Linked DNA regions of Homo sapiens: region 1 is linked to region 2. The links are contacts of gene promoters, found by promoter capture Hi-C in human tissues and cell types (Jung and others, 2019). All regions are on one chromosome and are shown on one strand. Each heading gives the region's core, a stretch centred on a gene start or on the middle of the fragment in contact. The rest is flanking DNA. Distances are from core to core; before and after follow the strand shown.

Region 1 (4,218 bases), core at 815-3,314, 140 kb after region 2:
AAGAAATTTCAACCTTGACTTTCATCTCTTGAGGAAGGAGAAAGAGATCTCATTCATAAGCCAAAGCAGCATTTCTCCGTGGTTTCTCCTCCACTCCCCCGTTTCTCTCCCCTTAAATTCGCTCTAAATTTGTTTTCTGTGCTGAGCTCCCAAGCTCTGTCTAGCTCAGTGGAGGTGACTTTCCTCCCACCTGCTCCTGAGTCTCCCAGCTCCTTTACCCTGTGAATCTGCCATAGTCTTTTGAATCTCAATGGCTTTCCTTTGGTTGGGAGAGGGGAGGCTTCGGTTTTAATGAAGGGAACTCCCATCGTTGCTGCTTTTCCCTTAAGGCAGAGGTTTTCTACCTCCACACTTACACTGATATTTGGGGCTGGATTATTCTTCACTGTAGGGCCTGTCCTGTGCATTGTAGGATGGGGGGCAGCATCCCTGAGCTCTACCCGCTAGAGGCCAGCAGCACCCCTCCCTCCAAGACATGACAATCAAAAATGCCTCCAGATTGTGGGGTAAAATTGGCCCCTGTTGAAAACAAATGCATTAAAAAATTCAGGCCAGGCACGGTGGCTCACACCTGTAATCCAACACTTTGGGAGGCTGAGGAGAGTAAGATTGCTTGAAGCCAGGAGTCCAAGATCAGCCTGGACAACATAGCAAGACCCCATGTCTAAAAAAAAAATTAATTAGCTGGGCGTGGTGAGGTGCCCCTGTAGTCCCAGCTACTCAGGAACCTGAGCCAGGAGGATCACTTGAGCCCAGGAGGTTGAGGCTGCAGTGAGCTATAATCATGCCACGCCACTGCACTCCACTGTACTCTCTTAAAATAAAAATTAAATAATTCGTTCTAAGCCAATATTGCCTGCAGACCACGACAAAGAGGGCTTCTACCTTGGGCCTCATGCTGTAAATGGGAGGAGGCAAGAAATTCATGGAGTGAGGAGTCCAGGCATCAAGGAGCCCACATCTTCCTTGCTAGATCATCTCCACATACTGGGATCCCAGAATTTCCCACCCAAACAGCCCAAGCCTATTTCCAGGATCTGCTCAAGGCTGGTCTAGGTCAGTCCCCAGGACGATGCATCATGCTATCAGTGTGTGCCCTCTAGGCTCAAGGAAATAATAAAATAGAGGTAATCATAGTACAAACCTCATAGATTTGTTGTGCGGATTAAATTTGTGTACTGAAATCCACAGGACAGGGCTGGTATGTGATAAGCACTATAGAACTGTTGGGTGCTATCATTGTATTTTTCATAGCAACAGTCTTTAATATAGGACATCTTCCCTCCTTATCTGCTGCTTGACTGAACAGGGAGCCACTCATTCAAAAGTCAGAGCCAATCCTGACCATGCTGGACCCTAGAGAGATGGCGAGAAGGGCCTCAACATGGCGCCTTTATGAGGATTTTCACGGGACTTTCCAGGGCCATTCTGACTGTTGGCCTTTTCCCTTATATGCTGGTTGAGGTTTTAACCCCTCTTCAAACACACACACACACACACACACACACACACACACACACACACACGTACCATACATCTCTATTACCCAATCTGGCCCTTATCACAGGAGAGGGTCAAGGGAAGTAGGAAATGGGTGAGTCTATTATTATTATTATTATTATTATTATTATTATTATTATTGAGGCAGGGTCTTACTCTTTCGACCAGGCTGGAGTGCAGTGGTATGATCATGCCTCACTGCAATCTCAACCTCCGGGGCTCAAGCAGTCCTCCCGCCTCAGCCTCCCAAGTAGCTGGGACCACAGGCGTGCACCAACATGCCCAGCTACTTTTTAAATTTTTTTATAGAGACAGTCTCATTATGTAACCCAGGCTGGTCTTGAATTCCTGGGCTCAAGCGATCCTCCCACCTTGGCCTCTCGAAGTGCTGGGATTACAGGCATAAGCCACTGTGCTTGGCCTCTTCTTTTTGAGATAAAGGAAGAAATTAGGCTGGACTTTGAGTTTCAATTTCTACTATGCCTCGTGCTGGCTGGGTGGCTTTGAGCACTCAACCTCTTAACTTCTCCGAGCCTCAAATTCCCCATCTGCAAAATGGCAATAAAAATAGGGCTGTGATATGGATTTAAGTTTAAAAAAGAAAAACAACAACATATATAAAGTGCTTTTCTCAGTTCGTAGTACACAGACCTCAAGATTTGCTGTTACTGATTTTTAATTATTATAATAAAGTTAACTGAATCGTCATTATGACTGTTGGAAGGAAAAACATGAAAAAAAAGTTCTGTCCCAGCAGCTGCTGTGAATCACGAAGTGAGCCAGAAAAGCTTGAAAAACATCACCCTTAAGTCATGGATGAAACTTCTTAGAACCAAAGAAATGTCATAGCTAAAAAAGAACTCAAAATCTACATATACCCGCTCATTGTATAAAGGGGGAAACTGAGGCCCAGGGAAGGGATATGATGTACCTTGTTTTGCAAAAAAAAAAAAAAGAAAAACCTGAAAAAGCTTCTAGGTTTCTGAAAGAAGAAAAAAAAGAGAGTGCTCCAGTGAGAAGAGGTTTTGCAAAAGTTGGAAAGACAATGAGGACCACCTGCGTTGCAGTGTGTCAGAGCTGCCCTGTAGGAAGAAAGAAAAGGGGAAGAAGCAGGCCTGTGTAGACTGCGTTATGTCTCCTCCAACAGTTAAGCTAACTCATGAACACCCTGATGATGGGCTGTGGGGACCTCTCGGCCATGAGGAAGTAGGCAGGACTATGAAACAGCCCAGGGTGGTCTTGCTGGCTTTGTGCATTTTTTCTTTTCAGGAACAGGGGAACATCTTAACCCAGCATCAAAGAGGTAGATCGCCGGGTACAGTGATGAGGTTTCGGGGTGCCAGCCATAATCTGGGGGTGTCCCTGCACTGTGCTGTCAGACTCAGAGTTGCATATGGGAGCAGTGAGAGCCTAGGGCACAAATGAGAGTCCTTCATTACCTTGTGAACCAAATATGCAAAATGAGAAGCTGTTGAGTCTGCTCCCATTGGTAAAGATGTTTTTTTTTTTTCCTTTTAATTTGCAGTGTTTATTACACCCACATTCTAAGTCATCCAGCTTCCCTTCCAGAACCGTCTGCCTTGGCAAACTAAATTAGCGACCAAATAATTTAGCTCCTATGGTGAGGAACAAATTCGTTTTTACAGCAAATATCAACAGGTGAAAGCCTCAGTTTGTCCCTGACTCCTTCAGGGTACTTAGGTTTTGACTGGAGCAGTGAGTGATCTCCCTTCACCCTCTAGAACTCACTCTTCTCAGCTGTAAAATGAGCCAGTGAAAGCAACTGCCTTAAAGCACTTCTCAAATGTGGGAGGTGGGGGGCGGGAAGGGTGGCAATTGTGTCCCCAGGGTACATCTGGCAATGTCTAGAGATACTTTTGGCAGTCACAAGGGAGATAGAGGAGGCCAGGCACGGTGGCTCACGTCTGTAACCCCAGCACATCAGGAGGCTGAGGCAGGCGAATCACCTGAGGTCAGGTGTTCGAGACCAGCCTGGCCAACATGGTGAAACCCCGTCTCTACTAAAAAACACAAAAATTAGCCAGGCATGGTGGTGCATACCTGTAGTCCCAGCTACTCAGGAGGCTGAGGCAGGAGAATCACTTCAACCCGGGAGGCGGAGGTTGCAGTGAGCTGAGATCATACCACTGCACTCCAGCCTGGGCGACAGAGCAAGACTCCATCTCAAAAATAAAATAAAATAAAATAACAGAAACAGGGGAGATGGAGGAATTGCTACTGATATTTAGTGTGAGATGATAGGAGCTACCAAGCATTTTAGAGTGCCTAGGACAGCACCGCAAAACACAGAATGATCTGGCCCATAATGTCAGCAGTATCAAGGGTGAGAAACCCTGCTCTGGAGGCTTGATGTGATGATTAAATGAGTCAATCCACTGACGTCCTTAGCCCTGGCCCTAATACACAGTAGGTGCTTAATAAACTGATCTTTATCCCAGGCTCCTTCAAAGCCTGATCTTTGAGCCCTGGTGGATGCCTCCTACCACACTTTTGTTTCCTGGTTGTGTTTCCCCAACTTGAATTGCTATGATACGGTGGAAATAGATATGTTGATAACTCTACAGGTAAGTTGGGTCTCAAATTCCTAAAAGTGGAATAGGCAGGGTGTGTCCATGCATTGTCTGAAGAAGGGAACTGGACTTCTGGGTACTTGCCTGTCCCCAGAGGGTAGCCTTAGGGTGCTGGAGATTAAGCGAA
Region 2 (3,981 bases), core at 338-2,837:
GATGGGATCTGAAGGCAGATCTGCTTAGCTCTCAGGGGCCCAATTTAGGATTTACTGGGAACAACCCAGAAGCCATCTTTTGAGTCCTGGTTCCCAGGTGGCAGCTGGGTTCTAACATGTTTTAATATATTCACCCTTGCTCTCTTTAAAGGTCAGTGCCAGCAAAGAAGGTGTAATGAGTGTGAATAAAGAAAGACAATTATTTAAATAGATCAGATTATTTCAGGAAGTGCTCCCTGTTATGAAACAAAACAAGCTTCCTAGGACTGAGGTTCCAATGTAGACCCAGACAAAGGACCCCCAAAATTCCCAGCAGATGAGGAAGAGACCTTCCCTGGGCCCCCTCCTGGGAGTTCCACCCCTTGGTTTCTGCCCAGCTCTACAAAGGCTGTGTAACCTTGTGGGGGAGGGGGGAAGGGGGGCAGCTGAACCTGCCTGAGCTGAACCTGTTTGTGCCCCTTTCCTCCACTGGGAAAATAATTTTATTTTAATTTCATTTCATTTTATTTATTTTATTTTTTCAGAGACAAGAGTCTTGCTCTGTCACTCAGGCTGGAGTGCAATGATGCTATCATAGCTCACTGCAGCCTCGAATTCCTGGCCTCACTCAAGCGATCTTCTCGCCGCCTCGGCTTCCCAAAGTGCTGGGATTACAGGGGTGAACCAGCATGTTCCGATGAAGTCTCAGGCCAAATGTCACCCCTGTCATCCTCTGGTTTCCACAGGGTAGCCAGCACCTTCTCACTCCCTCGGGCACTTTTGTTTATTTTAGAGCGTTTTCTTGCTGTGGAATCCTTCCCCCCACTTTTTTTTTTTTTTTTTTTTTTTTTGAGACGGAGTCTCACTCTGTCACCCAGGCTGGAGTACAGTGGCGCGATCTCGGCTCACGGCAGCCTCCGCCTCCCGGATTCAAGCGATTCTCCTGCCTGAACCTCCCGAACAGCTGGGATTACAGGCGCGTGCCACTACGCCTGGCTAATTTTTGTATTTTTAGTAGAGATGGGGGGCGGGGGGGGGGGTCTCACCATGTTGGCCAGGCTAGTCTCGAACTACTGACCTTAAATGATCCGCCCACTTCGGCCTCTCAAAGTGCTGGGATTACAGGCGTGAGACACTGCGCCCAGCCCCTTCCTTTTTTGATTCCCATTTTTACAAGGCTGTAAGCTTCACGAAGGACAGAAACCTTGTCCATCTTGTCAACTATGATTTCCCCAGCACTGTGGCTCCGACCTGGCACATGGTAGGTGCTCGGTGAATACTGGTTTGAACAGACGACTGCGGCAGACGGCAAGGGCCACTCCTGTGCCAGGGCCTGCCACGCCACCGCAGCTTGTGCGGTGGGGGTGGGGAGGACTGGACAGTCTGGCTGTGCGCCCTTTTCTCCTTTTCAACGTCCCAGTATAACTTCAAGGGAGCGCAACTCCAGAGGCTCCCTGGACGAAGCTACCGCCCCGGAATCAGGGCCTTCCCAATTCTGCCTTCGGGGAGGGAGGATGGGGGTGGGCCGCGGGAGGCCAGTTCCAAGAGCGTCCTGAAGTCCCTCCCGCCGCCCCGCGTCGCTTTAAGGCGGAGGCCCGGGAGGGGGCCGACCCGGCTCGCCAGCTCCACGCTCGGCTCCAGACTCCGGCATTTCCTCCCCGCTAGCTGGCGCGGCCTCGCCTCCCCCTCGGAAGAGGAAACTCCCGGGGTCCGAGTAACAGGGTCAGGCGCGGAGAGGAGCGGCGGGAGAGCCAGGAGGGCCGCCCAGGGTAGGAGGCGAGCCAGGCCGGGCCAGAAGCTGGCCGACGGCGGCGCGCGGGGGCGCCGGGCGGGGAGGGCCGCTGGGCCGGACTCAGCGCGCAGCCGGGGCAGGGCGCGGCCCGGGGCCCGAGAGCGCAGGGCGGGCCGCAGCTGGAAGGAACACTTGAGCTGGGAGAGGAGGCCGAGCTGGAGGGCGGCCTCCCTCGGGCCTGCGTTCGGGAAGCCGCCGCGGAGGAGGAGACGGGGACAGCGGGGCTGCCCGGGCGCTGTGCGCATGCTGGGCTTGGGTCGCCGCCGGGGCTTGCCCCCTGGGCTGCTCGGCCACCGCCGCCCCGGGCGCCCGGCATGTCGGTGCACTACACCCTCAATCTACGCGTCTTCTGGCCCCTGGTGACCGGCCTGTGCACCGCCCTGGTGTGCCTCTACCATGTCCTGCGGGGAAGCGGGGGCGCCCGGGCCGAGCCCGCCGACGGCGTGGATGGCGGCTTCCCGTTGCTTAAGGTGGCCGTCCTGCTCCTCCTCAGCTATGTCCTCCTGCGCTGTCGCCACGCTGTCCGGCAGCGCTTCCTGCCCGGGTCTCCCCGTCTGGAGGGTCACGCCGCCTTCTCCTCGAGACACTTCCGAGAGCCGGGCCTCAGCATCCTGCTGGAGAGTTACTACGAGCATGAGGTGCGCCTGTCTCCGCACGTGTTGGGCCACAGCAAGGCGCACGTGAGCCGGATCGTGGGCGAGCTGGTGCGGGCTGGCCGCGCCCGGGGGTCCCCCGGTCTCATTCCTGGGGGAGCGCTGGCCTTGGCCTTCCGCGGAGACTTCATCCAGGTGGGCAGCGCCTACGAGCAACATAAAATCCGCCGGCCCGACAGCTTCGACGTGCTGGTGCCACTGCGCCTCCCGCCGCTTGTGGCGCTGGAGCCACGGAGCCTGGGCGAGGAGCCAGCGCTGGCCCCGGCCTTCCGCGGCTGCTTCTTGTGCGCCCTCAAGGCACCACCCTCACCATCGGGGGCCTCGGGGGGCCACTGGCTTCGGGACTGCAAACCCTTTGCTGATGCCTTCTGCGTGGATGTGCGCGGGCGGCGTCACCTCTCTGCTACTCTGGTGCTGCGCTGGTTCCAGTCGCATCTGCAGCGCTCCTTGGCCACTGTGCGTTACAGCCTGGAGGGGCGCTGTCGGGTCACCTTGACCCCAGGTGGCCTGGAACAGCCCCCCACCTTACACATCTTGCCCTGCCGCACTGACTACGGCTGCTGCCGCCTTTCTATGGCTGTGCGTCTCATCCCCGCTGTCCATCTGGGAGATGGGGTCTTCCTTGTGGCGCCACCACCGCCACCCTTGCCCAGCGCGCCCCTGTTGGAGCTCCCTGAGGGCCTGCGTGCGGAGGCACTGTGGGGTGTGAACACAGCACGCCAGGAGCAGAAGCTGCTGAGTTGGCTGCAGGAACGGGCAGCTCCAGGTGCCTGCTACCTCAAGTGCCTGCAGTTGCTTAAGGCTCTGCGCGATCTGGGGGCCCGTGGGCTGGACTCAGCGGCCGCCACCCAGTGGGGACGCATCCTATCCTCATATGTGCTCAAGACAGTGCTGCTGGCAGTGCTGCTGCGCAAGGGGGCCCCTGGGCAAGGCTGGGACGAGGAGCACCTGGGAAGGTGTTTGGAGGAGTTGGTGCAGTTCCTTAGGGACTGCCTGCTGCGACGCCATACGCTCTTCCACTGCGTCCTGGGCCCTGGTGGGGCGGCTGCCGAGGTGGGTCCCCTGCCCAAGGCACTGAGGGAAGCCGCCCCAGTTGACCTCCTGGCCGCTTTCGACGGGCACGCCCGGGAACTTGCAGCAGCGCGGTTGCTGTCCACGTGGCAAAGGCTGCCCCAGCTTCTCCGGGCCTACGGGGGTCCCCGCTACCTTGCCAGGTGCCCCCCACCCCGGAGTCAGCGCACCCAGGGCTTCCTTGAAGGTGAACCGTAAACCCTGACAGCACCCCCACCTGACCAAATGCTCCTAAAGCCTTTCCCACTGGGTGGGGGTGGGAATGGCGGTGAAGCCAGTTAAATGCAAGATTGCAGAAGGCATTGGAAAATTTGGTGGCTGCCACAAGCTTTAGTGGCTTAAATATCACCTTCTCGCTTCACAGTCCAGTATAATATGACATCTTCACACCCACTAGAGTGTCCTGGGCAAACCATGGGAAGACATCCAACAGGAGACCCAAGAATTGGTTCAAATATTGTTCTGTGTAGACGGATTCTGTAGAAG

Evidence for each region. Contacts are between HindIII fragments. The study calls those that stand out against the background at their distance.
Region 1: a contact is called between a fragment that was not itself captured here and the fragment with the promoter of ITPRIPL2 in region 2, in 2 of the 25 tissues and cell types used here (aorta and spleen).

The regions. Positions count from the first base shown.
Region 1 is chr16:19,254,956-19,259,173 of GRCh38, forward strand. All of the region lies in intron 7 of SYT17 (synaptotagmin 17), which reads left to right. Among named protein-coding and RNA genes, the nearest start is that of CLEC19A, 29 kb to the right of the region's middle. The HindIII fragment of the contact is 5,357 bases long and covers 1-4,218 here.
Region 2 is chr16:19,112,377-19,116,357 of GRCh38, forward strand. ITPRIPL2 (ITPRIP like 2) reads left to right here and starts at 1,588. Exons shown (of 1, transcript NM_001034841.4): 1 at 1,588-3,981. The coding sequence starts at 2,086. The coding sequence ends at 3,693. RefSeq lists silencers at 1,590-1,689, 1,780-2,149. The HindIII fragment of the contact is 3,376 bases long and covers 711-3,981 here.